Linked DNA regions of Homo sapiens: region 2 is linked to region 1. Evidence: promoter capture Hi-C in human tissues and cell types (Jung and others, 2019). All regions are on one chromosome and are shown on one strand. The core of a region is centred on a gene start or on the middle of the fragment in contact, and the rest is flanking DNA. Distances in the headings are between cores, read along the strand shown.

What was found. The method cuts DNA at HindIII sites, captures the fragments that hold promoters and counts their contacts. A contact is called where the count stands out against the background at its distance.
Region 2: a contact is called between a fragment that was not itself captured here and the fragment with the promoter of SLC7A6OS in region 1, in 1 of the 25 tissues and cell types used here (dorsolateral prefrontal cortex).

The regions. Positions count from the first base shown.
Region 1 is chr16:68,309,381-68,312,659 of GRCh38, forward strand. SLC7A6OS (solute carrier family 7 member 6 opposite strand) reads right to left here and starts at 1,566. Exons shown (of 5, transcript NM_032178.3): 1 at 1,355-1,566; 2 at 955-1,233. The coding sequence starts at 1,546. PRMT7 (protein arginine methyltransferase 7) reads left to right here and starts at 1,639. Exons shown (of 19, transcript NM_019023.5): 1 at 1,639-1,719; 2 at 2,662-2,796. RefSeq lists an enhancer at 571-1,535. The HindIII fragment of the contact is 13,375 bases long and covers 1-3,279 here.
Region 2 is chr16:68,031,115-68,034,369 of GRCh38, forward strand. The region is part of intron 2 of DUS2 (dihydrouridine synthase 2); the gene reads left to right. Among named protein-coding and RNA genes, the nearest start is that of DUS2, 9.5 kb to the left of the region's middle. The HindIII fragment of the contact is 8,004 bases long and covers 1-3,255 here.

The DNA of each region.
Region 1 (3,279 bases), core at 316-2,815:
GAGACAGGGTCTCACTCTGTCACCTAGGCTGAAATGCCACTGCCGCACAATCATGGCTCACTGTAGCCTTGACCTCCCCAGGCTCAAGTGATCCTCCCGCCTGGGCCTCCCTACGTGCTAGGATTAGGCGTCAGCTACTGTGCCCAGCCTCAAGGAGAATTTTCCATTTCTGTAGTTTTGCTGCATGTAGTAGACTTTTTTTGGAAGTGATTGCAAATGAAGTTAGCAAATGTAATATAAAGAAAAGCACTGGATTAAATGTGAGAAAACTTGCATTCTAGACCTAAATCTACCTCAAACTTGATATGCTATCCAGGACTATTCCTTTAACCTCTCTTTGATCAATTTTCCTACCTGCTCTATCTCTATTTTGCTCCAGTGATCCCCATCTCAGTCAGGGTGAAAGGCAATGTCCTTGCAAGTACCTAGCAGGCATCCTCCCCTCAAATTCCTTACTGCTCTCCTCTAGCTCACCGGGCTCCAGGCACCTTGCAAGGAGCAAAGAAACGGCTTAAGGGCCTCTTTACTTTCAGGTTCTCTGCCTAGAAGTCCTCTCGATATGTGGAATACCCTGCCATTCACCTTCTGCAAGTCTTCACTCAAATGTCATTTCCTCAGTGACACTCTCACTGAAGTGGCACCACTCTTCCTGCTTTGTCTCCCCGCCTCCTTACATCCCTTATCATCATCTGACACTGAATAGACTTGTTTACTGTTTCTGTCTACCTGCATGTTAGGTCCTCACTGCTGTATCCACAGAATCTAAAAAAATACCTGGCATATCGTAGGCACGTAGTAAACACATGTTGGATGAACAACCAAATCTGTAAAATGAGGCCGTCACGCCGGATGGATCATCCATCCCCTTAAGATGAAACTGTGCTGCGACTGGGCCCAGTCTTCTTGCATTACCATCCTGAGAAGCCCAGCGACCACCTTCAGGGGCATACTCACTTTGCAGGAGCCTGCAGAGGCGGCTTCAGGTTCTCCCTCCTCGTGGACAAGGTCTAACAACTGAAAGCCCGAGTTCCCGGCGGCTTCTGGGTTCCCCGGCGTGTACTCGGACTCCTGGCCGCTCGAGGTGGTCCCCAAGGATCGGCGGCTGGAAAGCACCCGGTAGCGGCCCTCCTGCCGGACCTCCCGAGCCGAGGCGCGGAGATTACGGCGGACACGCTGCTGGCTGTCCCGTGACGGGCGCAGAACTTCCCGCAGGAGAGGCTGGACTGGTTCCTCCTAGGGGGCAACAGGGGACGGAGGCCAGCGTAAGCAGGAGTTCGCGAGCGGGTCAGGGATCGGGTTTCGTACCGGCTGCACCCGAAGATGCCCTCCACACCAGCTGCACCACGCCCAATACCTGGGAGCACACAGTGGCCACCAAGTGGAAGACATTATTCTCCGCCGCTCTCTCCAAACCCTCCGACGTCTTCTGTGCCGCTGACTCGACCGCGTCGCTCCGGAGGCGTTTACAAGCGAGCACAAGAGCCTCCGCCGGCTCCGCACTGCGCTTCCGCTTCACCCGGAGTACAGCGGTCCTGGCGGCCTCCATAGTGGCTGCCGCTGAGCACTGTGGGAGCTCGCGGGGTGTGATGGGATAGCTTTCCAGTTCTGCTTTAGGACCCGCCCCCCAGCACGCTCCTCGACGCTGCGAGGTCCCGCCCCGCGTGCTGGCCGCGGTAAAAGTGGTAGCAGCGGAGGCGAGCGGAGGGTTTCCCGCGGCGGGTGAGGCGCTGGGTATGCTGGGAAGGTGGGGTCGCTTTGGGGTTCTGTGTGCAGCGAGCATGGTGTCCTTGGCACCAGGGTTTCGGCAGAGGAGCCTAGCGTGGGCCTACTTGGACTCCTCCGCGTGGGGCAGCTCGGGACACCCGGGCCTGCAGGAGAGCGGGGTTCTAGGCTGGCCCCGGCTCTGCAGTGCAGCCGGGTGCCTGCCACTCGCGGGGCTCTGTCGCAGTACTCGTGCCTGGCGCCTCCCCTCAGCCACAGAGACCGCAGTAGCTCCAACCATCGCACCCCTAACTGGGCCACGAGTTCTCTGATTGCCAGACCTGTTGTCTTTGCCACTCACTGTTCTGAGTAATTGGAGAGTCGTGTATTCACTACACGCCAACCAGAGTGGTCCTGTAAAAGCGTAAGCCTAGTGTAGATACGCTTCTGCTTAAAACTCTTGAGTGGCTCCCAGTGCTTTTAGAACAAAATCCAAACGCCTTTCCGAAGTCGACAAGGCCCAGCTTGATTGAGCAGAAGATGTGATAGGAGATGAGGAGCGGGGGGCTTCTGCAAAAGTGCTTCGGTCGCTCAGGCTTTTGGCACATTTTGCTTATGCAACCTAGTTCTTTCTACCTTAGGGCCTTTTCTTGGGAAAGTTGGGGTAAGGATTCCTGACCTGTAAAAACTCTTCCCCAACTTTTATCCCGGTCTGTCTTGTAGATCTCAAATGCTAGTTTCCTCAGAGTCCTTCTGTAACCTTGGTTTTCTCTTTCTACAACGCTCTGTGTATTTCTTGCATTCATGTAGTCTGTAATTTGTATTACTCTCTCATTAGAGTCTAAGCTCTTGGAGGGCAAGGGTCTTCTCTAGCTTGTGGTGGTGGCTCCAGTCCCTAATATAGTGCCTGGCACATAGAAGGTATTTAATAAATTTTGTTATTTTATTTTTTCGAGACAGAGTCTCACTCTGCTGCCTAGGCTGAGTGCAGTGGTGTGATCGAGGCGCACTGCAGCCTTGACCTCCTGGGCTCAAGCGATCCTCACCTCGGCCTACCGAGTAGCTGGGACTACAGGCACGCGCCACTACACTCGGGTAATTTTTAATTTTAATATATGTATATTTATATATATATATATATATATATATTTTTTTTTTTAAGACAGGGTCTCACTCTGTCACCCAGGCTGGAGTTCAGTGGCGCCATCTCTGCTCACTGCAACCTCTGCCTCCCGGGCTCAAGTGATTCCCCTACCTCAGCCTCCCGAGTAGCTGGGAGTAACTGGGACTACAGGCACAGGCCACCGCGCCCGGCTAATTTTTTTAAAAATTTTTTGTAGAGAACGGGGTCTCACTATGTTGCGCAGGCTGGTCTGGAACTCCCAGACTCGATATCCTTGCGTCTCGGCCCCTCACAGTGCTGGGATCACAGGTGTGAGCCACCACCGCCTAGCAAATACATTTTGAATGAATGTAGTGGACCATCTGCTCTGCAGTCTGACGGCTAATACAATTAGGGCTTGGCATGGTGGTTTCTATTTCCTCCTTGTAAATGGCCATGCAAGTTTACAACTCTTG
Region 2 (3,255 bases), core at 641-3,140, 280 kb before region 1:
TCCACCAGTGAACTGAAGACAACTCTGGCTTTGATCCTCTAGGAAACTCATGAACTCTTTTTTTTCTTTTTTGGAGATGAGTCTCGCTCTGTCACCAGGCTGGAATGCAGTGGCGTGATCTCTCACTGCAACCTCTGCCTCCCGGGTTCAAGCGATTCTCCTGCCTCAGCTTCCTGAGTAGCTGCGACTACAGGCATGCGCCGCCACACCCAGCTAATTTTTGTATTTTTAGTAGAGACGGGGTTTCACCATGTTGGCCAGGATGGTCTTGATCTCTTTACCTCGTGATCCGCCTGCCTTGGCCTCCCAAAGTGCTAGGATTACAGGCATGAGCCACTGTGTCTGGCCATGAACTCTGTTTCTAAGCAACTTATATAAATCTCTCCCTTTCTGCCAATAAAAGCTTCCTTTTCCCCTTCTGTCACCAGATGTACTTGTGGCTTGCCCTTCTGTGCATCCTGGATTATAATCCTTTTCTCTCATTCTCAAATAAACTCAACATGTTTGGAGGTATTTTTCTTTAATGTCTTTTTTTTTTAAGGTTAACAGGATATTATGTCCATGTAACTGAAGTTAAGGTTATTATTTTTTATTTTTTGAGATGGAATCTCACTCTGTTGCCCAGGCTGGAGGGCAGTGGTGCGATCTTGGCTAACTGCAACCTCTGCCTCCCTGGTTTGAGTGATTCTCCTGCTTCAGCCTCCCGAGTAGCTGGGATTGCAGGTGCACACCACCATGCCTGGCTAATTTTTTTATTTTTAGTAGAGACAGGGTTTCATCATGTTGGCCAGGCTGGTCTGGAACTCCTGATCTCAGGTGATCCTCCTGCCTTGGCCTCCCAAAGTGCTGGGATTATAGGCATGAGCCACCTCGCCCAGCCAAGGTTACTGTCTAAGAAATTGAGCGTAATAGAGGAGACCAGCCCTTAAAAGGAATGGTAGAAGAGATTGGAAATGAGTGACTAAAGTGGTGATGTGGGTGTGATCTCAGGGTGGGGTGAGTGGTTGTGGCAGTAACTGGGAAAGGCATGGGGGCTGCCTAGTTTTTCTCAGAGGAGCCTCCTTAGAGGCAGGGTGTGTCAGGCACCTCTGACTGAGTGCCAGAGGAAGTTGCCAGACCAACCACCCTACAAGAGGCTGTCCTCTTGGCTACCACAGTGGTAAGTATTCAGTCACACCTTACTAAGCAGCCTCTAAAGGTCATGTACCTGGCTCAGTGCTAGAAATCTGGCAGTGAACTAAGCAGCCACACTCCTGTTCTTGTAGAGCTTGTTGTCCTGGTGGTCTCCAGGAGGAGCTGAGGATTGAACAAGAAACTACAGCAGTCAGTGTGGACACATGGAGTGTAACTGAGCTGCAGAGAAATGTAGGGTGTTTGGAAAGCATGGGACCAGGGACCTGAATTTGATTTTCTGTAGGGACGTATCTTCACAAAGGGGGCATTCAAGGACAAGGGGACCTTAGCATGGGCATGCATGACTGAGTTGGAGGAGTATTCCAGACAGAACTGCAAGTGGGCAGGCCCCAGGGAAGCAGACAGTTTGGTGTGGGAGACTTTAAAGGAAGGCCAGGGTGGCCGGGCACAGTGGCTCACACCTGTAATCCCAGCTCTTTGGAAGGCCAAAGTGGGTGGATCACCTGAGGTCAGGAGTTAGCTGGGTGTGGTGGTGGGTGCCTGTAATCCCAGCTACTCGGGAGGCTGAGGCAGGAGGCTGAACCTGGGAGGTGGAGGTTGCAGTGAGCTAAGATTGCGCCACTGCACTCCAGCCTGGGCAACAGAGTGAGACTCCATCTCAAAAAAAAAAAAAAAAAAAAAAAGGGAATGCCAGGGTGGCCAGGGCCGAGAGGGAGGGTGAGAGAGACACAGGTGAGGGTGAGGCTGGAGAGGTGGGTAGGGACTGATCATGCAGGGCCTTGTGGGCCATTAGAAAGGTTTAGGATTTTTCCTAAAGTCAGTGGGAAGCCATTGAAAGGTATAAACGGGGGAGTGGTATTATCAGAGTTGCCTTTTTAGGATCCCATGCTGGCAGAATGGATAGGAAGGGGCAAGTGTAGATTTTGGGAGACACATTTGGGGGCTGTGCTAAAGTCCTGGCAACAGATGAGCGGAGGGTTTCTGGTGCGCAGTTGTGGCCATTGGCATGTAGTAAAGCATGTGGGTTAGTTATATTTTGAAGGTTATTTCAATAGAAGTCAGTGATGGATTGAATGTGGGGAATGTGGGTTAAGAATGAGTAATTGGGAGACTGGAGATGCTATTAATGAAATGGGAAAGATTTTCTTTCTACATATTGGACTGGTTAACATGTTCTCTTCCTTTAGACCTTGGATCAGAGATTATTTCTTTTTAAAATTATTTTTATTTAAAAATTAAAAAAAAATTTTTTTTGAGACAGGGTCTTGCTCTGTCACCCAGGTTGGAGTGCAGTGGCATGATCATGGCTCACTGCAGCCTCAACCTCCCAGGCCCAAGTGATCCTCCAACTTCATCCTCCCAAGTAGCTGAGACTACAGGTGCTAATTTTTTTTTTTTTTTTTTTTTTTATATAGAGTCTTGCTGTGTCACCCAGGCTGGAGTGCAGTGGCACAATGTCAGCTCACTTCATCTCCTGGGTTCAAGTGATTCTCTTGCCTCAGCCTCCTGAGTAGCTGGGATTACAGGCGCATGCCACCACGTCTGGCTAATTTTTGTATTTTTAGTAGAGATGGGGTTTCACCATATTGGCCAGGCTAGTCTTGAACTCCTGACCTCGAGTGATCCACCCACCTCGTCCTCCCAAAGCACTAGGATTACAGACATGAACCACCGTGCCCAGCCCAATTTTTGCATTTTTTGTAGAGATGGGGTTTCACCATGTTGCCCAGGCTGATCTTGAACTCCTGAGTTCAAGCAATCTGTCCACCTTGGCCTCCCAAAGTGTTGGGATTATAGGCGTGAGGCACCTTGCCTGGCCTAGTTTTATTTTTATTTTCAAACAGGGTCTCACTGTCACCCAGGCTGGAGTGCAGTGGTATGATATCAGCTCAGCTCGGCAACCTCTGCCTCCCAGGCTCTAGTGATCTCACCTCAGCCTCCCTAGGAGCTGGTACTACAGGCATGCACTACCACTCCTGGCTAATTTTTATGTTTCTGTAGAGATGAGGTCTTGCCATGTTACCCAGGCTAATCTCCAACTCCAAGCTGATCTCCCATCTCCAACTCAAGCGATCTCCCCACCATGGCCTCCTTAGTGCTAAGATAACTGGCGTGAGCCAT